Regions from separate parts of the Homo sapiens genome. Here regions 1, 2 and 4 are each linked to region 3. The links are contacts of gene promoters, found by promoter capture Hi-C in blood cells and fetal thymus (Javierre and others, 2016). All regions are on one chromosome and are shown on one strand. The core of a region is centred on a gene start or on the middle of the fragment in contact, and the rest is flanking DNA. Distances in the headings are between cores, read along the strand shown. Region 1 has its middle 7.4 kb from the start of MESP1. Region 2 overlaps PRC1 (protein regulator of cytokinesis 1). Region 3 holds the start of IQGAP1 (IQ motif containing GTPase activating protein 1). Region 4 holds the start of RCCD1 (RCC1 domain containing 1).

Region 1 (3,562 bases), core at 707-3,206, 630 kb before region 3:
AAGAAAAGAAAAGGCCAGAAAGCAGAAAGGCTGGACCTCAGGAGGCTCCAGGTGCCCTGTGGTCCAGGGACTGCTAAGCCTCTCAATGCCAAGAAAGCCCTGATTCTCGCATGATTGTGACTTCATTTCGTAGCTTTACTTGAGTAAACTCAGAATGACCACAAACTCGTGTTTTATCTTCGTATCTTTATTTGCAAGTAGAGCATTTGCTTTACACATAGTTACAAAGTCAACACGTGCAGAAGGTAGAGCAAACCTGTTTACCATCCTGCTCTGGGGCTCCCAATTGCCTGTGCCAGAAGAAACCGCCATTACTGGGTTGTCAACAATGCTTTGAAATGAATTTGGTTTTGGGTTTTTTTGTTTGTTTGTTTATTTTCTTTTTCTTTTTCAGGGTCTTGCTCTGTCACGCAGGCTGGAGTGCAGTAGCGCAATCTTGGCTCACTGCTGCCTCGATCCCCTGGGCTCAGGCAATCCTCCCACTTCATACTCCTCAGTAGCTGGAACCACAGGCACCGTGCATCACCACACCCAGCTAATTAAAAAATATTATTTTGGACCGGGCGCAGTGGCTCACACCTGTAATCCCAGCACTTTGGGAGGCCAAGGTGGGTGGATCAGGAGGTCAGGAGATTGAGAGCATCCTGGATAACACAGTGAAACCCCGTCTCTACTAAAAATACAAAAAAATTAGCCAGGCATGGTGGCGGGTGCCTGTAGTCCCAGCTACTTGGGAGGCTGAGGCAGGAGAATTGCTTGAACCCAGGAGGCGGAGGTTGCAGTGAGCCGAGATGGTGCCACCACACTCCAGCCTGGGTGACAGAGCGAGACTCTGTCTCAAAAAATATATATATAAATAAAAAAAAATATATATATATTTTTTTTTGTAGAATCTGAGTCTCACTTTGTTACCCAGGCTGGTTTCAAACTCCTAGCTTCAAGTGATCCTCCCACCTCAGCCTTTCAAAGTGCTGGGATTATAGGTATGAGACACCATGCCCAGCCTGTATTTTATTAAGTACAAAATCAACTACACATATTTGGACAAGAGACCATATGTGTGGGAAGCACACTTTATGTTGAAACCACAGCCCCTAGAAGTTCTCAGATCTGAAACCTAATAGCTAATGTTAAGTGAGCACGTGGGAGCCACCAAGAGATATGGAGCAGGAGAGGGACATCAGGAATGGCCTGTGACAGGAAGATCCCTCGTGTCACCACTGAGGTAGGGTTAGAAAGGCACAGGGGTGAGTTGTGGAGACAACCCACAAATATGGCAAGAGAGAGGTGGGGCAGATGGGAAGGTTCTATCCCCAGTCCCGTCTTTGGGGTCTTCAGCCCTCAAGGCTGACAAATTGAAGGGAACACATGGAGTCCCTCCCTCCCCTGGGGTCTCTGGGAAGTCGCCCCAGGGGCCCAGCTGGTGCAAGGGCAATGGTCAGTGGGCCTGATGGAACCAAGTTAAGGGATGGGAGGCACCCCAACCTGAAGCCCAGTCCCTGCCGCCTCCCACCAGCCAGCCTCCTCTTCCCTGTCCCCTGCCTGTCTCCCCTTTGATCTCCTTATTGTGGCCAGCCTCTCCGGTGGGTTCATGTGGGGGCTGCCTGAGTTAATGAGTTCTCCGGGCGGCAGGGCCCACACGCTCTCCCACTGGGGTGAGGCCTTCACACCTCTGGGGCCTGTGTTTTGACAAGTGCCGGAGCTAGTGGCCTCTGCTCCCCTGGCCCGAGCCTACCCTCTGCCAAACGTGTAAGGCTGGGAAATGAGGCCTTGGGGCAGCCCCACAGGAGCAGAGGTGACAGAGCAAGCTGAGGCCAGCATGGGGGGCAGGCTGGACAGGGCAGCACCCTCTCAGGCTCAGGCCTGGACCTCAGCCTCCCCACTCTACCCAGCCCGCTTCTCACGCCAAACCTGGGTCCTGGGCACTGCCCGGCCCCCCTCCCAGCCCCAAGGCCCTCATTTCCCAGCCAGTCCCTCTGACATAGGAGTACTAATCAGAGGTGCTATGTAAATCGTCCCCTTGCAGACCCTAATCCTGTCCCTGCCGGAGCCAGAGGCCCCAGGAGAAGGAAGCGGCTCTCCTACTGCCAGCCTACTTAGCATCTCCTGGGAAGCTCCTAATTTGGGTGTCCCCCACAGCCAAGGATCTTCCCGCCACACCTCTGCAGCAACCCTCTCAGGGGAGAGATTGTTAGTAGTGAAGCCTCCGCCTTCAGACAGCCCAGGACACTCCTCTGGAGTCTGGCCAATGTGGGCATGAGGCCCTGCCTTGCCATGCACTACCTGTGCCACTTGGGCACCTCGCTCTCCATCTCTGGCCTCAGTGTCTTGTCTGTTGCTGTGCCACAGGGTAATTCCTGCCTTCTGGGCTGAGCATGTGCGGATCAACTCAGGCTGCATGGAGCGTGCGTGCACACTACTGTCCCCCGAGGTCTGGCACTGGGCTGGAGCTTTGCAGGGTCGCTGCTCACACTCACAACACACTTTGATGTGGGTGTAGTGGCCCCCACTTTGTAGATGAGGAAACAGAGGCTCAGAGAGATTGTCCCACCTAACAGGGTGAGCAGGGGCTGAGCTGGCATCCATCTGTCTCTGTCAGAGGCCAAAGCCTCTGTTCTGTCCTCCCTATATCTCCCATGTCTCCTTCGGAGGATGAGTGGCTCCTTCCATCCTGGAGGGAGGTCCTAAGAGTGAAGGGGTTGGGGACCCCTCCGGTCACATTAAGCCTTGCTTCACATCACAGAGACTGAGAAGAAAAAGAGGCCGGGCACAGTAGCTCACGCCTGTAATCCCCACACTTTGTGAGGCTGAGGTGGGTGGATCACCTGAGGCCAGGAGTTCGAGACCAGCCTGGTCAACATGGAGAAACCCCATCTCTATAAAAATACAAAAAATTAGCCAGGCACGGTGGTGGGTGCCTGTAATCCCAGCTACTCGGGAGGCTGAGGCAGGAGAATTGCTTGAACCTGGGAGGTGGAGGCTGCAGTGAGCCGAGATCACACCCCTGCACTCCAACCTGGGCAACAAGAGTGAAACTGTCTCAAAAAAAACAAACAAACAAAGAAAAGGAAGAAGAAGAATAAAGAAGAAGAAGAAAGATGGAAGAAGGAAGAGGAAGAAGAAGAAAAGAAGAAGAAGAAGAGAGAAGAGAGAAGAAAGAAGAAAGAAGAGAGAAGAAGAAAGAAGAAGAAGAGCTTGCAGGCCCCATCTGGACTTCATGGACCAGATCCCTGGAGGATGCAGCCTGAGGATAAAAAATAAAATCTCCCTGAAATTATGCAGCGGTGCCCCACGGTGAACACCCCACCCCAATCAAAAGGTGGGAAAGGCCCTGGGGAGCACCCAGCCCCTGTGGGTCTCAGATCGTGAGGCCTGGAGGCCATGCTTGGGCTGAAGCCCAGAGAAGTCAGAGGGCCCAGCAAGGCGGGCTCACCTTCCCCCACCTGTGCTTCCTTTCCTATCAGCCTCCCGCTGAGGCTCCGCAGCTCCCAGGGCAGCCCCTTCCAAGGACGATCACTCCCTCCCCTCACACCTTCAGCTCTCGGAGCCACTGAGCTGGCAA
Region 2 (3,335 bases), core at 152-2,651, 600 kb after region 3:
TCAGCGTTTATAAAAAAAAATTCATATTCCCTACAAAGCAAAACTATGGTAAGCAGCAGCTTCTTTTTGATCATCTATTAGTTGCTTCACCTCTTACCAGGGCAACTCTCTACAGAGGTGAGAATTACTCTGCTGGGCCTAATTAACTACACAGCATGTTTTCCCCACTTCTTACGTCTAGCTCCATCCCTACGAGGAAGCCTTCCATCTGCAGGCCCAAGTCAACGTTGCTTTCTAAGTCTCAGGCCCCAGACAGATCACCAGAGACCCTGTGGGCTGCCACGGACCTGAAATGGCTCAACATGTAACTCGCTGCACAGAGTGTTCAGCTCTTTCTGACAGACGGATATGCTTTTGATGAGTCTTTCCTTCAGGCTTTCCTCTTCAGCAATCATCATATCCAGGAGTTCCTACAAGAGGGAAAACAGTCCATAAGTTTGGGGCAATGGAGGAAAAAAACTCCCAACACCAATACCAAACTCCTCAAATTTCTTTTTTCTTTTTCTTTTTTTCTTTGAGATGGAGTCTCGCTCTGTTGCCCAGGCTGGAGTGCAATGGCGTGCTTTCGGCTCACTGCAACCTCTACCTTCCGGGTTCAATAGATTCTCCTGTCTCAGCCTCTTGAGTAGCTGGGATTACAGGTGCTCACCACCATGCCCGGCTAATTTTTTTATTTTTAGTAGAGACGGAGGTTCACCATGTTGATCAGGCTGGTCTTGAACTCCTGACCTCAAGCAATCCATGCGCCTCGGCCTCCCAAAGTGCTGGGATTACAGGCATGAGCCACCGCACCCAGCCTCCTCAAATTTCAAGAAGGGACTTCAAAACCAAACCAAACCAAACAGGAAGAGCCTGTGCTATCCTAATGCCGATGATCACATGTCCCTTCTGTATGCTATCTCGGGTGAGACACCAACATCCTTACCCTGGTCCAATGCAGAGACCAGTACTATTCAACCCACCTTGATATGCTTCTTTACCACCTCAGTTCTTTGTAACCGCTGGTCCTCTGGAATCCCAATTAGCTCCCATATTTCCCGAAGGTGATTTAGGGCTTTCTGCAGACATACTATGGACTCCTCCGCCAGCACCTCACTGAAAACCAAAAACTAAGGCCTGTTAGTTACATCAGTCACAGCCTCTGGACTAAAAGCACTATTTTCGAGAACTAAAAAGACTAGCTTCTCAGTGGCCTCGAGAAAAAAACAAATTGAAAACAAGCATTCAGCTTAATTCACCTTTAACCACTCCCCATCCCTTTTCCTACCAAATGCCACTAGCAATACAAGATTTCATATCATATTACATCATGGAAGCTCAACCTTCTGGACTTTCAACAATGATCTACCTATGGAAGTATAATACAGAATTATAAATACTTTTACTAAAGAAAAACCGGACAAAAGATGTTGGTAAAATAAACTAACACAAGAACTTGCTGGTGAGAAACTCCTGCAAAATGTTTGGCAATTTATTACTATTTTTTTGGTGTTTTTTTTTTGTTTTTTCTTTTTTTTTGAGACAGCATCTTGCTCTGTCGCCCAGGCTGGAGTGCAGTGGTGCAATTTTGGCTCACTGCAACCTCTACCTTTTGCGTTCAAATGATTCTCCTGACTCAGCCTCCCGAGTAGGTGGGACTATAGGCAGGTGCTACCACACCCAGCTAATTTTTGTATTTTTAGTAGAGTTGGGGTTTCGCCATGTTAGCCAGGTGGGTCTTGAATTCCCGGCCTCAAGTGATCCGCCCTCCTCGGCCTCCCAAAGTGCTAGGATTACATATGTGAGCCACTGTGCCTTGCCATTTTATTTAATTAATTTATTTATTTTTATTTTCTTTTTTTTTTTTGAGACAGAGTCTCGCTCCGTTGCCCTGGCTGGAGTGCAGTGGTGAGATCTCAGCTCACTGCAACCTCCGCCTCCCAGGTTCAAGTGATTCTCCTGCTTCAGCCTCCCAAGTAGCTCAGATTACAGGTGTGTGCCACCACACCCAGCTAATTTTTGTATTTTTACAAAAACACAAAAATCCACCCACCTCGGCCTCCCAAAGTGCTGGGATTACAGGCATGAGCCACTGCGCCCGGGCCTAGTATTCTTAAATTGCAACCGGCAGCTCAAAGAATGGCTAAAGTTAAAAAGCCATTGAGATGGGGTTTCACTACGTTGGCCACGCTGGTCTCGAACTCCTGACCTCAAGTGATCCACCTGCCTCGGCCTCCCAAATTGCTGGGATTACAGGCGTGAGCTACCATGCCTGGCCTATTCTTCTTAAATTACAACTAGCAGCTCAAAGAATGGCTAAAGTTAAAAAGACAGCATTAAGTGTTGGTGAGTATATAGAAAAGTGAGAACTTTCATATGCTGCTGGCATGGTGTAAATTGGTACAACTATTTTAAAAACTGTTGGCAGTCTATCTACTAAAGCTGAACCCAGCAGTTCTACCTCTACATACATACCTAGCAGAAATGAACACATACGTTCACCAAAGACATATATGAGAATGGTTAGAGAAGCACTACTCATAATAGCAGGGAAACAGAAACAGCCTAGATGTCTATCAACAGAATGAATAGTACATTCCTACAATGCACTAATGCAGCAATGAAAATGAACAAACTGGCTGGGTGCAGTGGCTCACACCTGTAATTCCAGGACTCTGGGAGGCCGAGGGGAGCAGATCACTTGAGGTCAGGAGACCAGCCTGGCCAACATGGGGAAACCCTGTCTCTACTAAAAACACAAAAAATTAGCTGGGTGTGGTGGTGCGCCTGTAATCCCAGCTACTGGGGCGGCTGAGGCAGGAGAATCGCTTGAACCCGGGAGGCAGGGTTTGCAGTGAGCCAAGGTTGCAGTGAGCCAAGATTGTACCACTGTACTCCAGCTTGGGCGACAGAGCGAAACTGTCAAAAAAGAAAATGAACACACTACACATGATATGGATAAAGCTCAAATTATTATATTTCTATTTTATTTATTTATTTATTTTACTTTTTTGGGGTGATGAAATAGTTCTAGATCTTGATGGCGATTATACAACAGTATACAATTGAAACTACCTGTAAAGCGAGTCTGTTTTACTGTGTATGAATTATACCTCAAATCTTTTCATTTTTTTAATGAAGTAAAATAAACAACTAAAAAATAGTTGTAAGGGGAAGAGGAAGGAAAAAAAAAACACTTTAGGCTGAGCAAATGCCACTAGATATGCAAATGTGTATCACTATGTGATTCCGTTGACAGAGAGTTCAAAAACAGGCAAAACTGGCCAGGCACGGTAGTTCACGCCTGTATTCCTAGCACCTTGCAAGGCCGAGGCAGGAAAACTGTTTGAGCCCAG
Region 3 (3,138 bases), core at 585-3,084:
ATGCTGAACTTGGCCCATTATCTTGAAGGGAGGAATAGAAAAAAAAATTTAAAAAGAGAAACACAATTGCATTTGCACTTTAGAGAGAACACCCTGATAACTGTGAGGATCTAGTTGGCAGAAGGGCGACTACAGTGTAATCACAACAGGGATGGAGACAAAAGTAGACATCTCAGAAATAAACACAGATTGGATGTAGGGTGCGAGGCAAGGAGCCTGGGGTGTTCCCACTGGGAATTGAGTACTTCTGTGAATAGAGAATATAGCAGGAGCAGGGTCAGTATTTGACACGTGGGATTTGAAGTGTCTGCCCTATACACAGGTGAAAGTGTTCATTAGCTGAAAATACTGAGGGACTTCCAGACGATCTGGTCTGGTGATACATATCGAGGGGTCCTCAGCAGTTATAGGCGAGTGTAGAAAAGATTACTGAGTAGGCAAAGAATAAACGGAAGAGGGCCGGGCGCGGTGGCTCACACCTGTAATCTCAGCACTTTGGGAAGCAGAAGCGGGTGGATTACCTGAGGTCAGGAGTTCGAGACCAGCCTGATCAACATGGTGAAACCCTGCCTCTACTAAAAATACAAAAAAAGTAGTTGGGCGTGGTGGCGGGCACCTATAATCCCAGCTACTTGGGAGGCTGAGGCGGGAGAGTCGCTTGAACCCGGGAGGCGGAGGTTGCAGTGAGCCGAGATCGCGCCACTGCACTCCAGCCTGAACGACTGAGCAAAACTCCGTCTCAAAAAAAAAAAAAAAAAAAAAATGCCGGGCGCGGTGGCTCACGCCTGTAATCCCAGCACTGTGGGAGGCCGAGGCGGGTGGATCACGAGGTCAGGAGATCGAGACCATCCTGGCTAACACGGTGAAACCCCGTCTCTACTAAAAATACAAAAACTTAGCCGGGCGCGGTGGCGGGTGCCTGTAGACTCAGCTACTCGGGAGGCTGAGGCAGGAGAATGGCGCGAACCCGGGAGGCGGAGCTTGCAGTGAGCCCGGATCGCGCCACTGCACTCCAGCCTGGGCGACAGAGCGAGACTCCGTCTCAAAAAAAAAAGAAAATAAAAAAAAAGAAAGAAAGAAAAGAAAAAAGAATAAACAGAAGAGGGCTGCGGACAGAATACCGTTGAATACCAATATCTGAAGGGCAAGCCACAAGGTGCAGGGGGCAGAGGCATCCCTGATACGGGAAAAGAGTTATTTTAAAAAGAACTTGCAAAGAACAATGTCAAGGGATCCAAAGGTAGGGAATTTGGACAGAGTTCGGCTTTAGCATCCGCATCTCAAATACCTGGGTACCTGGGTAATCTGGTGACTGCTGCCGAATCTAAGAGGACTGAGGCCAGGTTGCCAAACTGCGGAGAGTGGGGTTGGAGGGCTTTCATGGCAGTTTGGGGCCTGCTTGTGTCCAACAAGACAACCTGGGTCACCTCAAAGGGTGTCTTCTCCAAATATTGGTGCAGAGGTTAGCTGGGCCGGCAAGAGAAGGGAGATGACCCACTATTTTGATTTCAGGCAGCAGACACCGGCAGCCTTTCGGTTAGAGTTGCGGATAGGGCAGTGGCCTTGGGGGCGGGGCTATAAACCTGGGCGGGCATTCCCGGCAGGGCAAGCTCAGCGTGAGCCCGATTGGAGGATGGGCTCTACCTTCTTCCTTCCGCCTACGGAGACCATAGCGGGATGCAGGGCGGGGCCGGGCTGAGGGGGCGGAGTTAGGGGCGGGGCACGGTGACTCTGGCCCCGCCTCTTTCCGGCCGCTCAGGGCGGTGTCGCTGGGGCGGTGCCGCTGGGGCGGGGCCTGCGGGGTGGGGCTGACGGCACGGGGCGGGGCCTCGGGGACCCCGGCAAGCCCGCGCACTTGGCAGGAGCTGTAGCTACCGCCGTCCGCGCCTCCAAGGTTTCACGGCTTCCTCAGCAGAGACTCGGGCTCGTCCGCCATGTCCGCCGCAGACGAGGTTGACGGGCTGGGCGTGGCCCGGCCGCACTATGGCTGTGAGTGCGGGGCTCCGCGGCGCGGGGGCTTCGGGCTGGGCTAATTGCAGACGAGGCGCGATTTTCCTGGGGGCTCGGCCGGGCGGGTGGGGCAGGGCGGCTGCCGGCAGCTCGGACCCGGAAGAGCCGTCCCGGTGGGGCGGCGGGCGGCGGGCGGGGAGGCCCCTGGTTCGCGCCCCCTCGGGGTCCGAGGCGGCGGAGAGGACCCCCGAGGCCTCCCGCCTTAGCTGGGGCCGCGGTAGGGGGAGCCCCACCCAGCGCCTCTCGCCGCCCAGGCTCGGCCGAGATTGGGGAAGACGGCCTAGAGTGAGGTGGCAGGATGACCGCGCAGGGCGTGTCCCGGGGATTGGGGGTCTGGGTACGCGGGCTCTGCCCGTTTCGTGGAAAGGCGCTGCCCTAGTGTTGCCTGCGGGGTAGACCCAAGGGATAGACCAGGGTCCAGACCTGTCCGGTCCCAGGCTAGCTACGAGGTGCCGTCCTGGGCAAGTCACTTCAGTTTTCTCGGGCTTAGTTCCCTCCTCAAGATTTCAAAAGTAAAATAGTAATAAAGAAAAAAAAAAGAAGCAGAAAATCCTCTGACTTCCTCATTTTCTGTTGTCGGCCCTGGACGTCATTGAACTGCAGGCAGGATTGGCTAAAGGAGGACCCTTTGGGATTTTGAGGTTTTCGGTTTTATTTTATATTGTGGGAATAATGTTCTTTTTTAAAGGATCAACATTTCACGCATCAACAGTTATACGTGAGGTATTGTGCCACGTTTGTGAAATTAAAGATGAGTAAGATCAGGCCCTGTCTCCAAAGAGCGTTTTAATCAGAGAGTCAGGTGTGCAAGCTAATGATTATAAGGTGCAATAATGATAAAAGATGCTGAACTTACTAGCCATACAGAGTAATGTAGGTAAGGAGAAGGGGCCTGGGGAAGACAGTATGAGCACGGGAGGTGACTTTTTTTTTTTTTTTTTTGGAGACAGGGGGTCTTGCTCTGGTCGCCCAGCCTGGAGTTCAGTGGTGCAATCTCAGCTCACTGCAAACTCCACCTCCCAGGTTCAAGCGATTCTCCTGCAGTCTCCCGAGTACAGGCGTCGGCCACCACACTGGCTAATTTTTGTATTTTTAGTAGAGACAGGGTTTCACTGTGTTGGTCAGGCT
Region 4 (3,393 bases), core at 149-2,648, 570 kb after region 3:
GCCCTGCTTCTGAGCTCCAACCAGGAGCTGCAGCACCGGGGTGCTGTGGTGGTGCTGAACATGGTGGAGGCCTCGAGGGAGATTGCCAGCACCCTGATGGAGAGTGAGATGATGGAGATCTTGTCAGTGCTAGCTAAGGGTGACCACAGCCCTGTCACAAGGGCTGCTGCAGCCTGCCTGGACAAAGCAGTGGAATATGGGCTTATCCAACCCAACCAAGATGGAGAGTGAGGGGGTTGTCCCTGGGCCCAAGGCTCATGCACACGCTACCTATTGTGGCACGGAGAGTAAGGACGGAAGCAGCTTTGGCTGGTGGTGGCTGGCATGCCCAATACTCTTGCCCATCCTCGCTTGCTGCCCTAGGATGTCCTCTGTTCTGAGTCAGCGGCCACGTTCAGTCACACAGCCCTGCTTGGCCAGCACTGCCTGCAGCCTCACTCAGAGGGGCCCTTTTTCTGTACTACTGTAGTCAGCTGGGAATGGGGAAGGTGCATCCCAACACAGCCTGTGGATCCTGGGGCATCTGGAAGGGCGCACACATCAGCAGCCTCACCAGCTGTGAGCCTGCTATCAGGCCTGCCCCTCCAATAAAAGTGTGTAGAACTCCACTGTGTGCCCTGTCCTTGGGCAGGGAGGGCTGCTGTGAGTGGGAGTCTCTGAGTGGGTGAGTGTGGGTGAGTATGGGTGTGAGCTGGGCGTGGGTGAGTGTGCAACGGAGCTTCACAGTGGCAGACCCACCTCCATGGAAGGAATCCAATGGATTCCCCAACCAGGGCCCACTGAGTTGCTTCTTAATCCTACTGGAGGGACAAAGGGTAAGCCTAGGAAGCTAATCAATAAGAAACTCACCAGGTGCGGTGCCTCAAGCTTGTAATCCCAGCGCTTTGGGAGGCTGAGGCAGGTGGATCACTTGAAGTCAGGGGTTCGAGACCAGCCTGGGCAACAAGCAAAACTCTTTCTCTATAAAAATACCAAAAAAAAAAAAAAAAAAAAAAAAAGAGCAGAGTGTGGCGGCATGCACCTGTAATCCCAGCTACTCGGTAGGCGAAGGTTGCAGTGAGCCCAGAGCGCAGCCTCCCAAAGTGTCGCCTGGGCGACACAGCGAGACCCTATCTCAAAAAATATTAAACTATCCCAAGAAATAAGTCGTTTAGGGTAGAGACTCCCATATGCTGGGCCTTCAGTACGTTTGTCTTTATATTGGGAGTCCTCTGTGGCCTCCGCTGAGGGCGCTGGGGCGGGGGTTGGGGTTGGTGGCCAGCTGAGCCTGGTTGAAGGGCGGCTTGGGCCCCGCCCACCACCCCAGCACGTTCGAGGAGGGCTAAGCCCAGCGTGAGGCTCGTTGGCTCGACAGAGGCACGTGACGGGTCCTGAGCCAATCCGTGGAAGGTAAAAGCTGCTTCCTGTTGGGGCATGAGTCCGGCGCGTGTCGGGTTTTGAGCTGCCGCGGTCCCGGGACTGAGGTGGGTGGCGGGGTCCGCCCGTCTTGGGCGTCACTCCTCGCCAAACCTTTAGCTCAAGTCTTAATGAATGTCCTCTCTGTGGTTCTAATCCGAGCTCCAGCCCCACGGGTTCCTGCAGGGGCGGGACCACCTGGCCCAACCTCTGCCTTGGTCCAACGCCCCCGGTTTCCTCCAGGGCCTTGGTCCAACGCCCCTCGGAGGTTTCAGCCCATTTCACAGACCGGGCCGCAGGGCCCCGGCGTAGGCCTCGGGACCGGAGAGGCCCTCAAGGGGAGTTGAACAGGGCTGCGGCCGCCGCGCCCCGGGCGGCGACGTCACCGCCCTTGCTGGTGATTGGCCGCCTCGCGCCGCGCGCCCTTCAAACCTTTTCTCCCCGTGGCTGTCGGCGCCCGCTGGGCGGGAGGCCTTTCCGGAGGCGGCCGCTCTGCGCCTCGGCGTTTCCTCCAAGGCTGCCCACCAGAAGGACCTGCCCGAGAGGGTAGAGGGCATAGGGTCAAGATCAAGGTCAGAGGCCCCCTTGGGTTGGGAGAGGACACGGAAGGGGTTAGGAGCCCAGGAACTGGGGTCTCAGGAGAGACCCAGGATCTGACTTAAGAGGCCTGAAAATGCCCATGCAATTCTGCTTCAGCCCGGGTGCAGCGGCTCACGCCTGTAATCCCAACGCTTTGGGAGGCCGAGGCGGGCGGATCACTCGAGCCCAGGAATTTGAGACCAGCCTGGGCAGCATAGCGAGACCCCTGTCTCTATTATATTAAAAAAAAAAAAAAACAAACCCGCTCCAGCCGAATCTGCTTGAAGTTGGCGTTGCTGTTGTAACCACCAGACTGTTTGTCTCCCCATTTAACGGTTAGCTCCTTGGGAGCAGACAGCTGTCCTCACTGGCAGAGGAGGAGCGCTCAGTAAATGCTCGCTGGACGAATAAATGGCTAGATAAGGTACAGTTGAAATTCTGTCTGTATAAGTTTCTCAAAACCAGTAAGATGTCCAGGGATAATTTTTTTGTCAACACTAAATACTGGATTCAGTAAGCTAATACTGTGTGTTTATCATGGCATGTACTCGCACCAAACCCTTTATTTGCATTTATTACAATTCTGTGAGGAAGGTTCAAACAGCACCGCCCCCACCTCCCTTTGTAAACTGAAGAAACGCAGTTGGACTCAGGTGGATTGGCTGCGGTCCCAAGGCCCCGCTGAGTTGCAGAGGCACTGCCTCCCAAACGCTCTTCTGCGTTCCGCTGTGGGGAGAGGGGCAGAGCACTGTGTGTGGAGTTGGTGGGACCTGATTTCAGCGCTCTGCCCCTCTCTGTCTGGCTGTATGAGTGTGTAAGGGTTACTTTGTCTCAGAATCTCCTCTGTAAAACGACCATTTTGGTTCCCAAGATTACATGGGATAAAGTGCCAGATGCTGGGAAGCTGCGGGACGGGGTGGGGGTGTCGGGGGCGCTCGGATCCTAGTCCAATGCCTAAAGGACAGGCCACTTCGTACCCACTTTGTGGCACGCTGAGCTTGAGCCAAAAGGGAGGACAGGGAAAGTGCCTCTAAATATTTGAGCATCTTTGTAAATCCGGTAGGGCATTAGTCAGGGCGCCTGCTCAGCGAACCTTCGTGGCACGGACTCTGCCTTTGTGGTCGGGAGAATGATAGTTTCTCCATTTTACAGATAAGGCAGCTCCAGCCCCTGGAAGGCCAGAGACTTGCCAGTGTCCCACTAGCGGGCTCTTCGCAAGAATCCCCCCGGGCCCGCCGCAGCCAGGCGGCGGCCGGCAGAGGGCGCTGCTCGGGCATGGCGGAGGAGCGGCCGGGGGCCTGGTTCGGCTTCGGTTTCTGCGGCTTCGGGCAGGAGCTGGGCTCCGGACGCGGGCGCCAGGTGCACAGCCCCAGTCCGCTGCGGGCGGGCGTCGACATCTGCCGCGTGAGCGCGAGCTGG

The links. Contacts are between HindIII fragments. The CHiCAGO score rates a contact against its expected background, and 5 or more counts as called.
Region 1: a fragment that was not itself captured here is called in contact with the fragment with the promoter of IQGAP1 in region 3 in 1 of 17 cell types (neutrophils); the score reaches 5.6 in neutrophils.
Region 2: a contact is called between a fragment that was not itself captured here and the fragment with the promoter of IQGAP1 in region 3, in 1 of 17 cell types (total B cells). The highest score is 5.2, in total B cells.
Region 4: a contact is called between the fragment with the promoter of RCCD1 here and the fragment with the promoter of IQGAP1 in region 3, in 1 of 17 cell types (activated CD4 T cells). The highest score is 6.1, in activated CD4 T cells.

What each region holds. Positions count from the first base shown.
Region 1 is chr15:89,756,873-89,760,434 of GRCh38, forward strand. No RefSeq gene overlaps it. Among named protein-coding and RNA genes, the nearest start is that of MESP1, 7.4 kb to the left of the region's middle. The HindIII fragment of the contact is 6,729 bases long and covers 1-3,562 here.
Region 2 is chr15:90,983,731-90,987,065 of GRCh38, forward strand. PRC1 (protein regulator of cytokinesis 1) reads right to left here. Exons shown (of 15, transcript NM_003981.4): 2 at 963-1,095; 3 at 288-410. PRC1-AS1 (PRC1 antisense RNA 1) reads left to right here. Exons shown (of 4, transcript NR_051984.1): 3 at 1-48. Among named protein-coding and RNA genes, the nearest start is that of PRC1, 9.1 kb to the right of the region's middle. RefSeq lists an enhancer at 1-831. The HindIII fragment of the contact is 4,694 bases long and covers 1-3,335 here.
Region 3 is chr15:90,386,408-90,389,545 of GRCh38, forward strand. It overlaps IQGAP1 (IQ motif containing GTPase activating protein 1), which reads left to right and starts at 1,835. Exons shown (of 38, transcript NM_003870.4): 1 at 1,835-1,989. The coding sequence starts at 1,935. RefSeq lists a silencer at 1,559-2,338. The HindIII fragment of the contact is 8,546 bases long and covers 1-3,138 here.
Region 4 is chr15:90,953,486-90,956,878 of GRCh38, forward strand. RCCD1 (RCC1 domain containing 1) reads left to right here and starts at 1,399. Exons shown (of 8, transcript NM_001017919.2): 1 at 1,399-1,463; 2 at 3,127-3,393. The coding sequence starts at 3,250. It overlaps UNC45A (unc-45 myosin chaperone A), which reads left to right. Exons shown (of 20, transcript NM_018671.5): 20 at 1-608. The coding sequence ends at 231. It overlaps RCCD1-AS1 (RCCD1 and UNC45A antisense RNA 1), which reads right to left and starts at 1,008. Exons shown (of 2, transcript NR_170325.1): 1 at 850-1,008. RefSeq lists enhancers at 1-256, 1,081-1,635, 1,436-1,545 and silencers at 1,766-1,895, 3,126-3,355. The HindIII fragment of the contact is 3,970 bases long and covers 866-3,393 here.